3 separate regions of the Homo sapiens genome follow, and all the other regions are linked to region 2. Evidence: promoter capture Hi-C in 16 types of primary human blood cells and fetal thymus (Javierre and others, 2016). All regions are on one chromosome and are shown on one strand. The core of a region is centred on a gene start or on the middle of the fragment in contact, and the rest is flanking DNA. Distances in the headings are between cores, read along the strand shown.

What was found. Contacts are between HindIII fragments. The CHiCAGO score rates a contact against its expected background, and 5 or more counts as called.
Region 1: a contact is called between the fragment with the promoter of HRCT1 here and the fragment with the promoter of CLTA in region 2, in 1 of 17 cell types (endothelial precursors). The highest score is 5.1, in endothelial precursors.
Region 3: a contact is called between a fragment that was not itself captured here and the fragment with the promoter of CLTA in region 2, in 1 of 17 cell types (endothelial precursors). The highest score is 5.7, in endothelial precursors.

The regions. Positions count from the first base shown.
Region 1 is chr9:35,904,910-35,907,609 of GRCh38, reverse strand. HRCT1 (histidine rich carboxyl terminus 1) reads right to left here and starts at 1,408. Exons shown (of 1, transcript NM_001039792.2): 1 at 474-1,408. The coding sequence starts at 1,322. The coding sequence ends at 975. LOC124902149 (a long non-coding RNA gene) reads left to right here and starts at 1,940. Exons shown (of 3, transcript XR_007061471.1): 1 at 1,940-2,700. RefSeq lists an enhancer at 1,861-2,700. The HindIII fragment of the contact is 1,640 bases long and covers 475-2,114 here.
Region 2 is chr9:36,189,670-36,192,369 of GRCh38, reverse strand. CLTA (clathrin light chain A) reads right to left here and starts at 1,449. Exons shown (of 5, transcript NM_001833.4): 1 at 1,097-1,449. The coding sequence starts at 1,313. RefSeq lists enhancers at 1,254-1,473, 1,189-1,814. The HindIII fragment of the contact is 1,815 bases long and covers 741-2,555 here.
Region 3 is chr9:35,920,873-35,923,572 of GRCh38, reverse strand. No RefSeq gene overlaps it. Among named protein-coding and RNA genes, the nearest start is that of SPAAR, 13 kb to the right of the region's middle. RefSeq lists an enhancer at 1-302. The HindIII fragment of the contact is 1,017 bases long and covers 782-1,798 here.

The sequences.
Region 1 (2,700 bases), core at 159-2,658, 280 kb after region 2:
GCTGGGGCAGGATGGCTGAAAACGCAAGGCTTGGAGAAGAAACCCTGATCCAATTACCAAGGAAACTGGATTCAAGGCAGCCTGTGGATGGGGCTTCCTCGAGTTTCAGAGCTCAGTCTGCCCTGGACATGGGCTGAAAAAAGTACAGGGGCAGAGCCCTGGGGAGCCAGGCTCGCAGCGGCTCCAACCTTCCTCTCCCCGAGGACTGTCCCGCGGAAGGCCAGAGCCCTGCTGGTGCACACAGGACCTGCTGTGGGCAGGGTTTTGTGCAAACCCTGAATCCTCCCTCAGAGCTCAGACAGAGCCCACCCAATTCTTCCCACTCCACAACCAGCCCCTAAGAACCAGACAGAAGCCGCCTGCTCCAGCCACACGCTTCCCATCAGAGAGGGAGGTCCCAGGGCAATGAGGACACAGGCCAGGCAGCTCCCTCCCTCCCACTATGCTGCAATCAAGAGCCTCTTCACAAAAGCTTCTTAGTGGTTTTTATTTTCTTGGACTAAGGCACCGATGAATTGACTGTGCAGCCTCACACTGCCTTCTCCAAACCAAAAGGACATTCTCAGGGCCTCTCCCAGTGCCCTGCCCGCCAGAGGCCTGCAGCAGCCTGATGAGGAGGTCAAGACGGGCACTTCACATCCACTTGTGTGCTGGCTCTGCCAAGACACGCTTGTCATTTCTGGGGCTCACTGGGAGTCACTGTCACAAGACGGGCTGTCCAGCCCCGAAAGAGCACCCTTGCTCTCCACTCCCCAAACCCTTCAGCACTGCAGACCCAGTGTTCCTCCATTCTCTGCTGCCATAGTACACTGGGGCATGCCATGCAAATGCAGCTGGAGCAAGCCCCAGTCTATTGTTCCCCTCGTTCACCCCAGAGATGCATCCTTCCACATGGAAACATGGGGTCCACTTGTCCTGGGAACAGATGGGAGGGCAGGGGCAGCTGCTGTCCACAGGCACCGGCGACAGCAGCCTCAGCGAGCGTGGCGGGGATGGTGGCGGTGGGGGTGGTGGTGGTGGTGGAGGTGGTGAGGGGTGTGGCGGGGGTGGTGGTGGTGGTGGAGGCCCACATTCGGCACATGAGATACGTGGCCAGGATGACGGTGATGGTGAAAGATTCCCAGGTGGCCCCGCCGCCGGAAGGGCCAAGGCTGGGCCCGGCGGACTCGGTTTCCCCCTGCAGCTGTACGGTTCCTCTCCACGTCACAGTCCTGCCGTCCGTGGAAAAGGCAGGTGGCCAGCAGCAGCAGCAGCAGCAGGACCGCCACAGCAGCACCTGTGATCCATCCCACGAGGGCTGTGCTCCCCAGGAGGCCCAGCATCTGGGAGCCGGACAGTCCCTCTCTGCCCAGCAGCTCCTCACTCCTTTCTCCCCTTCAGCAGCCTCCGCTCAGCCCTCTCAGTCACTGAACTTTGTTGTCTCTGCTGCGGGCTGGAGAGCAGCCAGGGAATGTGGGCGAAGCCTGTTTGGACTTGCAACTGCTGGCCAAGGGTGAGGCCAGGCCGCTGTTAACTCTGAGGAGGCCTGGCAGGGAGGCCAGGTGGAGACAGAGGAGCTGTCAGGCTGGATCTGGTTGAGGGAGGAGCCCTGAGTCTAGAGGAAAGAAACCCTCCTGCTGCCTGGCTCAGTGACCTTCCCTCTCCGCACTTCAGTCTCCTCTCGTAGAGACTGTGTAGAACAGAGATGAACAACACGGGCTTTGGAGCCACGCCACTCACTTGCTCTGAGATTGTGCACAAGTTACTTAACCTCTCTGTCCTGTTTCCTCTTCTGTAAAATGGCTGATAACGGTTCCTTCCTCAGTAGGGTGTTCCGAGGACTAAAGGAGTTGAGATGCGTAAAGCAGCAACACCAGCTCCCGTCATGTTTGCAACTGATATTACTGCAATGGACTCCATGGCTCAGGAGACACTGACATCTGAGAGTCTGTGATTCCCTGTCCTGCAGCCTGCAGAGCCCTCCGGGGCTGAGTCAGGCTCTGTCAGATGAGCCATCCCGAGCTCAATGAGCTTGAGAAGCTCAGGGAGGCACCACAGGCAGATTTTGCCATCCAGGGAGGTCCTCCATCCGGCCTGTTCTGGGAGGCAGGAGGGTCTGGGTGTCCTCCCAAGCTTGCTGGGAGGCAAGAAGGAGGCCACTGAGCTCAGAGAGGGCAGGCACAGCCCAGCCTCCTGGTTCCCAGTTCAACAGTCTCAACTGGCCATAAATGGCATGCTCCTTGCTCTGTCACACCCTCCCTGCCCAGCAGTGATGAGTGCCATTCCTGCCTAGTGGAGCATTTACAGAGCGGCAGGATCTGAGCAGTACTGACTGTCCCTCCAAGCCCACCCGCCAGGCCCAAATCCCCTCTGTTCCTCCTGGGAGGCACCGTCCCATCCTGCTGACAGACCTCAGCAACAGGTGCTCACTCTCTCTCTGGGCAACCCTTTCTGCTGTGGGCATGCTGGGCTGTTCTCCAAGCTCTTCCTCACATGCAGTGGGGCTCCCCAAAGCCCCAGCTCTGTGTCTGGCTCTGCAGGGTCCCTCCAGGCTGAGTCCCCAGCCCCTCCCTCCAGGCTCATCTCCCTACCGCCTGGAGGAATGTCTGCAGACACCGCAAGGCTGGTTCTCTGAGTTCTGGCAGCACCTCCACCCTGTGATGTTGGGCAAACCCCTTGCCCTGATCCAGCCTGTCTCCTCTGCAGAACTCCCGGAGCAAG
Region 2 (2,700 bases), core at 200-2,699:
AGACTGCTGGATCTGAATGCCTTTACACAGAGCACTACTATAGTGCAGCAAAGCCTCAGTCTCCAACACTTCTACTGTCTCATGTCAAGCCAGCTTCTCTCGTATATGTTACCTACCTGGCTCCTTAAGGTTTGAATTTAGGGTAGACACTACTCCTATATGCCCCAGTAGTGCCCTATTCTCCCTTAGTTGGAATTTTTTAAGTGAATGAAAAGCCGTATTTCATTTCTTCTAGCTAAATTTCCTACTTCTTTGTATTATTAAGTAGGTCTTTTCCACTCATGATCCTAAGCATCACACACAGGTTAAGGCATCCAAAGGTCAAACTGCCATCCTACCTGCCCCATTTTTACTTGAGTTTGGCTGAGAACATTCTCTATTCACCTCTTCATCCCTCCCTGATTGGTTTAGGCTAATCTTGGGTTCTGCTTAGGCAATATTGCCTACCAAAGCTGTTCCCAGAGGAAGAGCTCCAGAAGTCCTAGCTGTAAATCAATCGCTCAACGATAGCAAACTCCTACCGCGCTTGGCAGTTCTTTCTCCAGACCTAGATCATCTTTCGAGTTCCCTACTCCCTCCTTCCTCCTCGTAATCCAACACTCTGTACACCTTAAGTGCTTAAATGCTGAACTGCATTGCTACTTTTGTTTGTATCTCTCAAAAACGATATTTCCATTCTTATTTTTTTCCGCCCTCCTTTTCTAATAACGAGTTCTGTGCTCGGCTCAGACTTATAAGCTTATAAGTCTGGAAAAACTGCGCCAATGCGGTTGCTTCAGAGACCGGACTAAAGGCACAGCAAATGCTTAATGAAAAGTTGCTGAATTGAACGGGCTTCTTCCGGCTCCGGAGCCTGCCACCCTACACTTGCTTTCTCGCTCCGCCCGCGCCCAGAAGCACTCAAACATGCTGAGAACCGAACAGGCTTCTCGAGCCTAGGTTTCTGAAAGACCGGGCCAGGGTCTCGTTTCCTGTTTGCACTGCTCCCTAACCTCCTAATTCAGCAAGGAGCACGAGTCACACAGAAGCTCTCGGACCCACTGTGGACCGAGTTTCCAGACAAGTCCTCTCGCCCCAAACGCGCCCGCACTCTCACCCGGACCCCCCGGCGGCTCGCCGTGCGGCTGGGGCCCGGGGGCGCCGCCGTCCAGGATGGCGAAGGCCTCGTCGTTCTCGATGCCCGCAATCTCGCTCTCTTGCTGCGCCAAGAAGGCCGCAGCCGGGTCTTCTTCGCCGGCGCCGGCCACTCCGTTCCCCAGCGCGGGACCGCCAGGGGCGCCGGCAGGGGCGCCGAACGGATCCAGCTCAGCCATGGCGGGCAACTGAACGGCACGGACACCAACGGTGAGACAAAAACCAACCGACCCACCGACACCACGCCCGGCAGCCACCGCTGTGGTGCCGACTGGGAGAGGAGGACAAGCGCCAGGAGGGAGACGGGTAAAGCGGAAGCCCTACCCGTGTATCCGGTCGGTCTAGGCGGTGTTGCAGAGCCGAAAAGGGAACAACCAATCAGAGGACAACAATGGTTCAGGAGCTACCCAATCAGCAAGTGGAGGGGCGGTCCCCCTAAAACAACTCGTGACTGGGGTAGGGCGGGAGGTGAGGGAGGTGAGCTGCGCGGGCCCCGGGAGGCGGAAGTGCTGCCTGATAGGGAGCGTCCTACCCACCCCGTCTGCTGGAGCTGGACTGACCAGGGACGGCCACCCCTGAGGGGACTCTAGTGCTGCACTGGGAGGTGAGGTGAAGTTAGGGCAGCGACGATTGGCCGATTACTGAAGAGGCATGCCACTTAGGCTTTCTGAACCTCAGTTTCCTCATTCGTAAAATAGAAACAAGAATCCTGCTCTTGCGCCCCCTCCCGGGATTATTAGAAGATTGAATCCTAAAAAAAAAGAAGAAGAAGATTGAATCCTTTTATGGATTTGAGGGTCCCTGGCTTTATAAATTTAAAATATTTAATTCTTTCAGCCAGCCTGGATTATTTGCTCCCTTAGAGCCCATAGATTTACTGTAATTGATTCAGTCCACTCCGATTTTTCTCGCCCATAAGTATTTTTATTTAAAAATGAATATATCTTATCTTCTTCAACGAAGCACTTTTGCAGCCATTACGTCTTTTCGGAGCTAGACAGAAGTTACTAAACCTGGAAAATTCCTTAAGGATCACTTGCTTCAAAGGGAGACACGGTGGCCCTGCTGTTCAAGGAGCGTCAGTGACCCAGAGAGTCAGTGACCAAGAGGAAACGCCTGTCTCCTGGGGACTTCCAAGATACTAGCTACAGTCTCTTATATTTACACCTTTCCTCCCTAAGGACAGCAGGAAAAAGAAAGTTCCGTGTTTCTTTTTAAATCAGGGAGATGTTAATAGCTACATGGCTCATTTTGTCTACACCACAGAAATAACAGTGGTTCCAGTTAATCATGCTCATGTTGAGGGGGAGTGCTTATGCAGGGGCCACCAGAAGACCCCTCTCCTTCACTACCACCACCACCACCCTAAGAAATGAAAAGCCAAAAAAAGAAACCAAAAAACCAGAGGTCAACAAGAAGCTTCCAGAGGTAGTCAGCAGGGGACAAGAAAGTGTTTTTATAAAAAACGCACATATCTTTGATGACAAAAAAAAAGGGATAGCTATGAAGGAAAAATGAAGCAAATAAAAATTATTTAAAGCATATATTTACTTAAAGCATAATTTT
Region 3 (2,700 bases), core at 41-2,540, 270 kb after region 2:
CACACCACTTCTACTGGCCATTCCTAGTTCCAAGAGGGACTGTGTTGATGTTATTGTTGTTTTTCTAATAAGGAAAAAGAGGAAAACTGAGGTTAGGAGACAAGTAGACCCCTGTGCACAGGGTCAGACATAAAGTCAAATGATCACCGATGCAGCTCTGGTGCGGCCTCTCTGAAAAATCACCAAACTTAACACCAAATCCTAAGGACTCCATACCTCAAACCCCTTAAAATGAGATCAATGAAAATGAGCGGTGGCCAAAATTGGGACCCAGGAGAATGTATCCAGTAGGATCACGATCAGTCAAGCAAATAGGTTTTACTTGGGTTTCCTGGATTTGTGTTGTGTTTTGTTTTGCTTTGTTTGAGATGGAGTCTCCCTCTGTTGCCCAGGCTGGAGTGCAGTGGCACAATCTCGGCTCACTGCAACCTCCATCTCCCGGGTTCAAGTGATTCTCCTGCCTCAGCCTCCCGAGTAGCTGGGACTACAGGCGCGCACCACCACGCCCAGCTAATTTTTATATTTTTAGTACAGATGGGGTTTCACCATGCTGGCCAGGATGGTCTTGATCTCTTGACCTCATGATCCACCTGCCTCAGCCTCCCAAAGTGCTGGGAATACAGGCACGAGCCACCGTGCCCGGCCAGATTTGTGTTTTTATGCAGGAATTCCTTCCCAGCATTTCTCGGAAATACTGTTTTTCCAAATGCCAATTCCTGAGAAAAAGAAGTTAAGACATCTAGGAACCTGGTAAGAGTGTTTTTGTGTGAGAATTAAAGCTTAGCAATCAACATGTTGAACTAGATGTGACTAGTTCAAAGGAATCCACTGACACCAAATCAAAAGCGAGAGTAGAAAATACTGAGGCACCCATAGGAAAGTTAAGTTCTGAATGGAACTGGGGAGTAGAGGAGAGAAAAGGCCATCATCTAATCAGTCTTCCGACTGCTGTTGCCAGGGTAGAGGTGGTGGTGGGCTAGCGCTGGCTCAAGAAGAGCCAGTTGTATGCTGCTCTTCCCAGCTCTCAGTGACATCCCCTCGGTAGCTGGGCATTGACCATTGTGGGAACATTTATGCCTCCCCTCAGAATTTGGCAAACCCTACATATAAGGGTTTTTTTTTTTTTCTCCAGGAGAGTCAGTTTACCAGCACACACTGGTTATAAGTGTGTGTTTGTGACCTGGTCTGCTTCTAATGGTAAGTCATTTTTGCAAATAAAACAAATATTGGTAAGTTTGTACACATAGGATACTTATACAAGTCCTATGAGCAGTGTCGGAAAAAAATAACAAATTTTGAAAGCAAAATAAGTCTTGAAACTGGCAATTCCAACAAGTGATTCTATGAACCTTGTTAGTGAGTCTGAATGTTAGTTATTTGAACACTTCCCAGTAATGATTGCTGGCATTTCCACGTGTTGAATATTCATTATAGGCTACAGTTCTTTGTAAATACTTTAACAGAAGAGATGCAAAAAGAAGACGTGATTGCTGTTATAGAACACTCCAGAAGGAAATCAGAAATTGCTCTAAAATCTGAATTAGCAAGAGCAATATTGATCTCAATGGCAAAATCAAGACCAGAGTAAGCAGACCAAAAAGTAAAAATAAAAATAAAGCATCATTTAAAAAGGAAATGAGCTTCTATAAAACAACATGTACCCTAATGGCTAACCTGAAGATGTTAGGGGCACACTCAACCAACATCAATGAAAAATGAAAAAACAAAAAAGTTTCCTACATCTAGAATATTTGTCACAAAACAAAGATCAAAACTATCAGATAGAGCAATTAAAGCTTTGTGTTTTAAAAGTTCATTTTAAAAATAACTTTTAAAATTAAATGTTTGTGCTATTATTTTTCCATTTTTAAGTGATTTTTATCTGGCATTTATTTTGCAATAATGTTCCCTCCTTTTTAATGTTTTCTATATCCAGTGCCTATATCAGGTGGAGATAATTTTTATGTTATTGAAATAATCTTGTCACAACATATTGGTTCATAATAATAATAAACCTTAAGGAAAAAGTCTGGAACTTTTAGCATCAATTTGTCACTGACAATTATTAACTGTTTATTATTCTGGTCATTCATTATTATTTAAAAGTATGTGAATATAATGTTATAGAAAATATGAGCCAGGCGCAGTGACTCACACCTGTCATCCCAACACTTTGAAAGGCTGAAGCAGGAAGATAGCTTGAGGCCAGGAGTTCAAAACCAGCCTGGTCACATAGTAAGACTCTGTCTCTAGAAAAGAAGAAAACAAAATAGCCAGGAGCACCCTAATGGCTAACATGAAGATGTTAGGGGCACACTCTATAGGCATGTACCTATAGTCTCAGCTACTCGGGAGGCTGAGGAAGGAGGGTCACTTGAGCTCAGGAGTTCGAGGCTGCAGTGAGCTATGATCGTACCACTGTACTCCAGCCTGGGTGACAGAGTAAGATCCTGTCTCCAAAAAAAAAAAAATTTAATGTATAATTTCAGGAATGCTCATGAATTCCCAGAAATTTCAATTTCTCATTCCTGAATACTGAACAGAAGTATTCGCGGGGAATTTGGAAACATTATTCTGGAGCTTTCAAACCTTTTAAAGCAGCAGACCCCTTTTTATCAAGCAAAATCTACCTGGGAAACAGAAGATATAAAAGAGGCAAAAATGAGGCTCTGGCTGAAGGAGAGGGGATAATATGGTCCT